Regions from separate parts of the Homo sapiens genome. Here all the other regions are linked to region 1. The links are contacts of gene promoters, found by promoter capture Hi-C in blood cells and fetal thymus (Javierre and others, 2016). All regions are on one chromosome and are shown on one strand. The core of a region is centred on a gene start or on the middle of the fragment in contact, and the rest is flanking DNA. Distances in the headings are between cores, read along the strand shown. Region 1 holds the start of PI3 (peptidase inhibitor 3). Region 2 holds the start of SPINT4 (serine peptidase inhibitor, Kunitz type 4). Region 3 holds the start of WFDC10B (WAP four-disulfide core domain 10B).

Evidence for each region. Contacts are between HindIII fragments. The CHiCAGO score rates a contact against its expected background, and 5 or more counts as called.
Region 2: the fragment with the promoter of SPINT4 here is called in contact with the fragment with the promoter of PI3 in region 1 in 5 of 17 cell types (M1 macrophages, M0 macrophages, total CD8 T cells and 2 more); the score reaches 10.6 in M1 macrophages.
Region 3: a contact is called between the fragment with the promoter of WFDC10B here and the fragment with the promoter of PI3 in region 1, in 8 of 17 cell types (M1 macrophages, M0 macrophages, naive CD8 T cells and 5 more). The highest score is 12.4, in M1 macrophages.

What each region holds. Positions count from the first base shown.
Region 1 is chr20:45,173,390-45,176,609 of GRCh38, forward strand. It overlaps PI3 (peptidase inhibitor 3), which reads left to right and starts at 1,513. Exons shown (of 3, transcript NM_002638.4): 1 at 1,513-1,612; 2 at 2,472-2,747; 3 at 2,981-3,155. The coding sequence starts at 1,534. The coding sequence ends at 2,746. RefSeq lists an enhancer at 1,103-2,302. The HindIII fragment of the contact is 9,599 bases long and covers 1-3,220 here.
Region 2 is chr20:45,720,816-45,724,035 of GRCh38, forward strand. SPINT4 (serine peptidase inhibitor, Kunitz type 4) reads left to right here and starts at 1,532. Exons shown (of 3, transcript NM_178455.3): 1 at 1,532-1,667; 2 at 3,065-3,220. The coding sequence starts at 1,553. The HindIII fragment of the contact is 5,556 bases long and covers 1-3,193 here.
Region 3 is chr20:45,703,401-45,706,620 of GRCh38, forward strand. WFDC10B (WAP four-disulfide core domain 10B) reads right to left here and starts at 1,619. Exons shown (of 4, transcript NM_172006.2): 1 at 1,518-1,619; 2 at 1,097-1,161. It overlaps WFDC13 (WAP four-disulfide core domain 13), which reads left to right. Exons shown (of 4, transcript NM_172005.2): 2 at 1,044-1,194; 3 at 2,463-2,527. The coding sequence ends at 2,505. It overlaps MIR3617 (microRNA 3617), which reads right to left and starts at 1,780; the gene lies at 1,702-1,780. The HindIII fragment of the contact is 3,233 bases long and covers 1-2,160 here.

The sequences.
Region 1 (3,220 bases), core at 263-2,762:
TTATTTGTTTGTATGGCTTATTGTACAATGAGCTTTTGTGTAAGGTAGCCAAAGGCTTCCACAGTCTGACATTCGTTTATGTCTCCCTCAGTTTCAGGCTTGGTGGGCATGTGGTCAGAGTCTAAATCGACAAGGGGTGGGGATTTCACCAGCTGAATTAGTGTCCAATAATTAGTTTGTTACCTTCCCTGCCTTAACTCCACCTCAACTCAGTGACTTTCTTAACTCAGATTCTGTCCCTGACAATACCCAACTTCAGGATATTCATTTCTATTACTCAGAACTTTTGGTAACAATGACAGAATAGTAAGTCAGACTAGCTGAAGCAGAGGGCTAATTTATTGCCTCATAACCCAACCATGAGAAGGGTGTGTGAAGAACTGCTCTCAAGGTAAAGGAGGGAAACCTGGCTGTGTCATCTGAATCTTCTCTCACCATCACTTCTCTCCTTGTCTCAGTGTATTAGAGTCGTTTTTCTCAGACAATTGATCTCCACCCCCAGACTTAGATAACCACTTCTGGAATTCCCTGGTTCATATATATCACCTTTTCCAGAAGAAGGAACCCCCGTTTTCCCCTTTCATTACTCATTCAAATAAAATATGTTAATAGACCAGACCAAGTCTCACACACAACACACACACACACACTCACACACACACACACACACACACACCCCTACCTGTGGTCAGGGGTCAGGCTTTCATGATTAGCAGTCCCCATTAGACTCACAAGTTGATGGTTCAAAGAGACAACAATTCTTCACAAGAAACAGGGTGCTGTTCAAAGAAGTGGGGAGGCATGCTGGACACACACACTGTAGATGTCCAATGTATACATGATACATGTTTTCTACTACTTTCTGATTATTTTCTCCCTACCACTGTGATTTCAAGGGCATCATCCCTCTTCAGACCTAGAATTCCACCTTCCAATTACTTTCTTGATGCATCTGAAAGGCCGTCTCTGAAACAGCAAAGTGCAATAATTAGTCATTATGTATTCAAGGCAAATTTGTCTTACAGAGTTTTTTGCAGGACCAGGGAAGAAGGAAGGAAATGCCCAGTTTGATGCTGGGAGTGGTAAAATGATAAAGTAGATCTGGGTGGGGTTTGTAGCACCAGAGCATAATGGAGAAACACCTTGGTTTTGTAATCAAGACTGGATCTACCAGTGACTTGCTGAATAACCTTCGGTGATTCCTTTCTCTTCTTGGGTCTCACTGTATTTCAAAACATGAAGAATTTCATTGTAATGTTACCTAATAAGTGAGCCAGCACTTCTACTCTGTGAGAAAGTAGGAAAACTCTTGGGACAATCAGAGATGATGTGATGTAATGTCCATTAGTTCTTCCTGTGAATAATCCTGAGGGAAAGCCCCCAGGTCCCTCCCAGAATGGGGTGGATATTTCCCAATACAGCTAAGGAATTATCCCTTGTAAATACCACAGACCCGCCCCTGGAGCCAGGCCAAGCTGGACTGCATAAAGATTGGTATGGCCTTAGCTCTTAGCCAAACACCTTCCTGACACCATGAGGGCCAGCAGCTTCTTGATCGTGGTGGTGTTCCTCATCGCTGGGACGCTGGTTCTAGAGGCAGCTGTCACGGGAGGTGAGTGAACAGGTGACCTGCTGGGCTGGGTTGGACTAAGGGGAGACCCTCTGGGACACCCTGGGCCAGGACAGGGAGCACTTCTGAAGCAGTAGGCAGCACTGGAGCCCAGATTTCAGCTTTCTGTTCTTTGCCATCATATTCAGAAAAAATAGGACTTTGGCTGGTGGACTCCACGTGCTTTCCACCTCAGTGACTGAGATATCAGGACTGTTTGTGGAAGTAATGTTGGTATGTGGCCTTGGCCTCAGATGTCAATACCTGTGCAGAATGTGCAATAAAATAATGAACTCCAGGATTTTAAACCTTGGGTGTGGACACAGTCCCCCGTTTCTCTGCCCCATAAAAGCACTGGAGTAATCAGTACTCTAAAAGGAGGTTAAGAAACAACAAGCCTTCAGGAATCATGTTGTTTGAGGACCCCCATTTTATAAGGAGGGAACCAAAAATGTAGAAATGAGTGAGCAATTGCCAAGGTAATTCCCAGAGCCAGGATGGGGCTCAAGTCTCCTAGTATGTGGCTCAGGGTTCTTTCCTACTCCAATGCACTTCCTAACAAATGACAATGTGTCCTCTTCACTGCTGGGTGTCACCCCAGTCTGACCACTGCTCCTGAGAGACTTGGAGTGGAGGAAGGGGGAAGAAACAAATACTCAAGGGAACTCTGGTCCAGTAGACCACCCCAAAAAAGGAAGAGCCTTCCAAGAGTGTAGCTCCCAGAGGTGTACCTTCCCTACTCAGGCCATGGTTTGAGGATGCTGCAGTAAGCAGTGGATGGACCCAGACCCAGAGGAAAGACATGGCAGCTGAAGCAGAGGCTTACTGGGTATAAATGTGGGCTCGTTTCTTCTTTTAACAGTTCCTGTTAAAGGTCAAGACACTGTCAAAGGCCGTGTTCCATTCAATGGACAAGATCCCGTTAAAGGACAAGTTTCAGTTAAAGGTCAAGATAAAGTCAAAGCGCAAGAGCCAGTCAAAGGTCCAGTCTCCACTAAGCCTGGCTCCTGCCCCATTATCTTGATCCGGTGCGCCATGTTGAATCCCCCTAACCGCTGCTTGAAAGATACTGACTGCCCAGGAATCAAGAAGTGCTGTGAAGGCTCTTGCGGGATGGCCTGTTTCGTTCCCCAGTGAGGTGAGCACTAGCTGGAGAACGAGGAGACCCCTGAAGACACAAAAGAAGGCTGAGCGGTGGGGAAGCATCCCAGGTTGGTGGGAGGGAGGTTGTGGGAGGTGACAGAAAGACTGGGAGACTGAGGGGTCTGAGAGGCTATAACCAGAGTGCCTAGAAGGATGATCTGTCTTCCTCACTGCCTCTGAGTGCTTTGATGTGCTGACTCTCACCTCTGATACTCTTCTCTTCCACAGAGGGAGCCGGTCCTTGCTGCACCTGTGCCGTCCCCAGAGCTACAGGCCCCATCTGGTCCTAAGTCCCTGCTGCCCTTCCCCTTCCCACACTGTCCATTCTTCCTCCCATTCAGGATGCCCACGGCTGGAGCTGCCTCTCTCATCCACTTTCCAATAAAGAGTTCCTTCTGCTCCACTTGTTTCTGGTTCCTATGACTTCTGGGCTCCTGGATGCTTTGGGGAAATGGATGTAGAATTGGG
Region 2 (3,220 bases), core at 282-2,781, 550 kb after region 1:
AAACCTGCACATCCTGCACATGTACCGCTGAAATTAAAATAAAAGTTGAAGATTTTTTTAAAAGATAGCATTTACAATAATATTAAAAATATAAATAAGATTGTAACACCTGCATGAGAAATGTCATAAACCTTTCTTTAAAATATTAATGAAGGTCAAAATAGATGGAAATATATATATCAAAGACAATATTATAAGGATATCATTCTTTTCCAATTGATTTGTAGATCCAGTGCAATTCAAATGAATATCCAAAATAGGTGTTTTGTTTTTGTTTTTGTTTTTGTTTTCGTTTTCGGTCAGAGTCTTGCTCTGTCACCCAGGCTGGAGTGCAATGGCACAGTCTCAGCTCACTACAACCTCTGCCTCCCAGTTCAAGCAATTCTCATGCCGCAGCCTCCCAAGTAGCTGAGATTACAGGAACTCACCACCATAACCAGCTAATTTTTGTATTTTTAGTAGAGACGGGGTTTTGCCATGTTGACCAGGCTGGTCTCCAACTCCTGACCTCATGGGATTCACCCACCTCAGCCTCCCAAAGTGCTGGGATTACAGGCATGAGCCACCACGCCTGGCCCGAAACAGGTCTTTTGAATAACTTGATAAACTGACTAAAATTTATATGAAAATACAAAATCCTAAGATAAACAAAGTTCAAGAGATTAAGTGTGGCTTTGGAGTGGGGGTATACAGTGGAGTGAAATAAAGGGCTCAGAAGCAATCCCACATAATTAAGCAAAATTATTTTGCAGTTAAATAGAAGAGGAACTCATTAATAAATAGGTCTGGAACCACTGAAAAATGAAAAAGGATCCTTATGTTATACCTTACCAAAAAATCAACATCAGGTGGTTTTAGGGTGTAAAGGTAAGCCAAAACTTCAAAACTTTTAGGAGAAAACAGATCCAAGATGTCCTCATGTTCCTAGATAACATAGTGTAGTGTGACTAAGAACAAAAACTCTGAAGCCAAGTTCAAATCTTGTCTCTACCACATAATAAATGAGTGACCTTGTACATGTAACCTAATCTCTGTCTCCATTTCATCCTTAAATGATGGTAATAACTGTACTTACTTCATAGGGTGTATATGATGATAAAGTATATACAAATTACTTAAAAATAGCACCTGGAATTAAGTAGTACTCTAGGTTATAACTAACCCTGTTACTATTATTATAGTGCTATTGCACTCTTTCTCTTGTGCCATGATTAGTTTCTTCTGTGCATAAAAGGTCAAAAAGAGAAAGGAAGAAATCCCTTTTTAATTCCTCACTCTGATGATTCTACCCTTCATGATTAAATATATGCAGAAGCTCTGATCCTTAAGTTTCTATTGCTTCTAGATGAACATGGGACTCACTATCAAGGGTCTAATCAGTTTGGGGCCTTCAGCTTCATGGCTGGGTACCCAAGCACTCACTGTTCAACTCAACACCTAGTAATGTCCAGTCCTGGCCCTTGGGGTAGGTGAGCTCAACCGTCTCAAGTATCAAGCCCAAAATATAACATCAGGTGATACCACAACTATCCTGCCTGCTGCTTGCTGCACCATGAAGTCTGCCAAGCTGGGATTTCTTCTAAGATTCTTCATCTTCTGCTCATTGAATACCCTGTTATTGGGTGGTGTTAATAAAATTGCGGAGAAGATATGTGGAGACCTCAAAGGTATGAAGCTAAGGCAGAAAATAAATCCAAAGGTCAATTATGAATGAGAGAGAAGGTATTGGGAGAAAAGTGTGTTATCTAGGTAGTCCAGGAAGGTCTTCCTTTCATGACAATACCCATAGACACTTAGTCCCTTGACTCAGGGCATTACTTACACTAGGGGTCCTCTGGATGTTTGATGAGAAAAAACAGAAATGACACAAAGTCCTTTCCAGATGGAGACCTCTTTTATAGGAGGTCCAAAGGACTGGAAGTATTTTGAATCAGAGGTTGTGTGACAAATTTCAAAGATCCCAGACCATTGATGATTATGTATTGGGATGAGAGAGAAAGGGGGTTGGAGACAGAGCAAATTAAGACATTTTCAGTATCTGGGCTATGGACATATACAGAACTCTTGGACAGATGATTCCTGTTTAGAGGAGCTCACAATGTAAATGTGAGAGGCAATGAGACTTTCTTCCATAGATAGTGTGTGAAGGCTCAGCGCTTCCAGGGGACGAGAAAGTAGCACAGTTTATACCGTAAGTCAGACACTTCAAGTTCTGGACCTGTTCACTTAGCAGATATGTGCCCTTGGACAAGTCACTCAACCACTTATTATTCTCTTAGTCTCAGTTTCCCCATGTGTAAAATGAAGATCAGAAAAGTGCCTGCTGCAGAGGGTGTTTGTGAGTATGAAATAAGATTATGCACATAACTTTACCAGAGAGTAAATTCCAGGCTGGCTGCTTGAGTAAGGTGGATTGTCAATACAACCATGATTGTGGCTGTTCCAACCACTTACTACCCAACTCTTAACAATAAAAACAGAGGGTTTGCCTCTGAGAAGGCAAGAAAGGAGAAGATGACGGGGTATGAGGATGAACGAGCATCACCCCAAGGTTATGCATTTTAGCATTTTAGTATGCATCCTGCTTTAAAGATAGCAGCAGCCATGGTTACTTAAATTTTGAAGTATAGGTAGTATAGTGAATGTATGAAACTGGGGAGGAGGCACTCTGAATTGCATGTCCTATGTGGGCAATTAAAAGGAAAGGAAGATGATGTGGGGAAGCAGGAGGATACTGTACTTTAATAAACTGTAAGATAGGAAATGTAGGGAAGCTCATCGCCCTGCACAAGCTAGTGGTGGAACCTCCTTTTTCACTGATCACTACTTCTCCTTCTCCAATACACTGCTCACGACAACAACCTGGAATTTTAACCAATTTGCATTGTGCAAGGGCAACATTTCCAAGCAACTCTAACTCCAAGAGAAAACCACATCTTTCAGAGTCCTTGAATATGAGAATAGTTCCAGGCTAAACGTAGGAATTTTTAAGGGCCCATAAAGACAAGTTCTCCTGCTGAGTCCTTACCAATTCCCACTAACTCAATGGGAACCTCTCATGCAGATCCCTGCAAATTGGACATGAATTTTGGAAGCTGCTATGAAGTTCACTTTAGATATTTCTACAACAGAACCTCCAAAAGATGTGAAACTTTTGTCTTCTCCGGCTGTAATGGCAACCTTAACAACTTCAAGCTTAAAATAGAACGTGAAGTAGCCT
Region 3 (3,220 bases), core at 369-2,868, 530 kb after region 1:
GTCATGACCTCTTTCTTCATTCATTCCTTTCAAATCATCATAATATCCTATAGATTTCCTTCTAATTGCAAATATTTGCAGAGGAATAGACCCACAATTCCTCTATTTGCAATAGAATGCCCCACTTTTGACTTTTGCCCCCAAAGAAAGGGAGAATCACAAGGTACAAAAATTAGGACCTGGAAGGGCTTGGGGAAAGGGATTAATGGGGCCCATCTTTAGAGTCCAGGAATAGAAAGGAGATTGTGGGTTGTGGACTTAGGGAAGACTCTCCCAGGGCAGGTAGGTCTTAGCTTTGAACTGAAATACTTGGGGGTAGGGGAGGAAATAGGAAGTCAACATAATGATGCTTATTCTTCTCTAACAGTAGAAAGTGGGGCATCCTGGTGCTCTGGCCTCCTGATCGAGAGACACCAAGGAAGAAAAAAGCTGAATCTTTGAACGCCATTCTGAAATCCCCACCCTTCTTACCATGAAAGAAGTCACTCCCAGAACTTACTTGTGAATTGGGTCCCAGCTCTCTGATCCAGTACCTTCAGTTTAATGCATGGTCTTCATCCTTTACCAAAACTTACCTTTCACTCATTCTTCCTGTACACAAATAACCCATGTTAGGTTAACCCCAGGGTAAACTATGTTGTTAATGAGAAGCTCTACAACTTGCTCAAGACCACACAATGAATCAGTGCAGAACGAACATACAAACCTCTTTCTTGTTCACCACATACACCATTGATACCCTTGATATGGACACAACCATAGTCAATGGGGGCTTGGCATCTGAACTACAAGGATGGTGAATGACCAATGGGTGCAGGGTTCTACCAAACTCTGTTCTTGATCAAAAAATATCCATGCCCTGCTTCCCTGCTCAGAACTCAGAGGAAGGCAGCAGCTGAGGACAAAACCTGATGCCACCACCCTGGAACCATGCAAGGCAGATGAGGGTGGCAGGTTTCCTGGCAGTTCCCTGGGCTTTCTGAGTTCTGAACATTACTCCAGCCTGTTGGTGAGGCCCTTCTCTTACTTGTTCTGTGTTCCAGAGTATATCTTGGAACCTCCACCCTGCATATCAGCACCTGAAAACTGTACTCACCTGTGTACAATGCAGGAAGATTGCGAGAAAGGATTTCAGTGCTGTTCCTCCTTCTGTGGGATAGTCTGTTCATCAGAAACATTTCAAAAGCGCAACAGGTAAGAGATATCTCATATCCAGGTCTGATCCTAGAGCTGCTGGTGGGAGCCCAGCAGAAGAGTCCCTTACCAGCAACTGTGCTGGATCTCTCCTTTTTTTTTTTTTTCCTTGGTGGCCATGTTGCCAACATGCCCCTTCTCTTGACCAAGGATAATTTCCATAAAAGTCCTGATTAGAAAAGCCCTCCTCCCCTCCCAATCACCACATCCCATCACCATATCCGTGAATTTCTGACTCTGCCTCTCTGAACACACCCACAAATGCCTTTATCCACAGACCTTCCCCCGACCCAGAATCCACCCTTATCCCAGGGACACTGTACCTGCAGGTGTAACCAAAATCCCAAAGCAAAATTTGTCCTACACTTTTGCTTGCCCTCCTTTCACAAGACACCATCCTTTGGCCACCAGTGTTCTTGGGCTCTGGAGATCCAGCCCAAAGGAAGTTTTGATTAATTGTCCAGACATTAACACTAGCCGCAAGCCTGCTAAATGGAGTGTGCTCCCAGGGCAGAGAAAGGACATAGGGTGCTGATGAGACATATGGTTTCTAATCCCATCTTGCAACTATGTCTTTCTATGACCTTGAGTAAGACAATTCCCTCTTTTTTACTTTCTTTTTCTCATGAGTAAAATAAGTACTCTTGTTTTTTCCTGCTTTGCAAGGCCCATATGAAATTTCAAAAGACTCACAGTGGAAGACTCAACCAATGAGCCCTTTGAGGGAAGCCTGGCAGTCTTGTTCCCTGCTGTATTCCCTACCATGAGCAGAATACCCAGCATGAGATAATGTGCAGAGTGATTAAGCATGGGCTCAAAGCCAAACACCTGGGCTCAAATCCTGGCTTCTTAGCTAAGTGACCTTAAGTGATCTTAGACAAGCTAATTAACCTCTCTCTGGGCATCAACTTCCTCATCCTTAAGACTGGAACAATAATAGTGAGGTTAAAATAGACAATCCATGTAAGCTTTAAAACATTACTTGCCAACATAATTGCTGTGAATTTTGGGGATTAGGCAACCACTTCTCTTTGAAGAGACTAGCCCTTGCAATTAAATTCCACATCTTTCAATGCTCTACATTGGAATGCAGAAGCATAAATATAACTCTTTGGTGTCATTGAGTTTTTTGAGGTTCTGCCTTCCCTATGGCAAGAGAAATGAGCTTCATGGTCTAATATTAATGGTGGAAGTAATTGAAAGAAAAATATATATCTCTAAAAGTAAAACTTCACTAGTTAATATTTGAAAATATTTTTCTTCTACAGAATCAAACACAAGGGCTCAGAAGTCATCATGCCTGCCAACTGAGGCATATTTCCTAGATCATTTTGTAAGTACAGGGATTTGGTCTCGCCTTCCTCATGTGAGATTCCCAGGGATGCTCACTTTCTTCCTGTAGCCTCACCAGGGGCACTACATTCCCACAAGCTCAGAATGGCCTCTCATTACCTGATTGCCTCCTCCTCCATCATTCCCCTCCAAGGGCTATCTTTGCACTCCCTGGGGGAGGCACGGTGCAGTCCAGCATGAATTCTGCAACACAGAGCAATGTAAGGAACCAAGTCATGGCCCAGGGGGAACCCAGGGCACTCAGATCTGAGGCTTTGTCAAGGAACAAGCTCTTCTAGCCTCCGGGTTGACAGCACCCTGGGCAGGGACTCAAGCTGAGCCCTTCACGCTCTGAGACTTTGGTCTGCTCACTGTACCTCTCTGAGACAGTCACCTCCCTCATGTGAAATATGAAGAAAACATCCATGCCTTGGGGTATTGGGAGGACAACACAAGGCCATGTAGATGGAAGAACTTGGTCTCTGCAAAGGTAGAAACTGCCAGCAACTCACTTACAAGGTCACTCATTCAGGTTCCAGTTTTTTCTCTGAAAAAAGAGGGAGTGGGCCGGGTATGGTGACTCACACCTGTAACCCCAGCACTTTCGGAGGCCAAGGTGGACGGATCACGAGGTCAGGAGTTCAAGACCAGCCTGACCAACAGAGTGAAACCCTGTCTCTACTAAAAATACAAA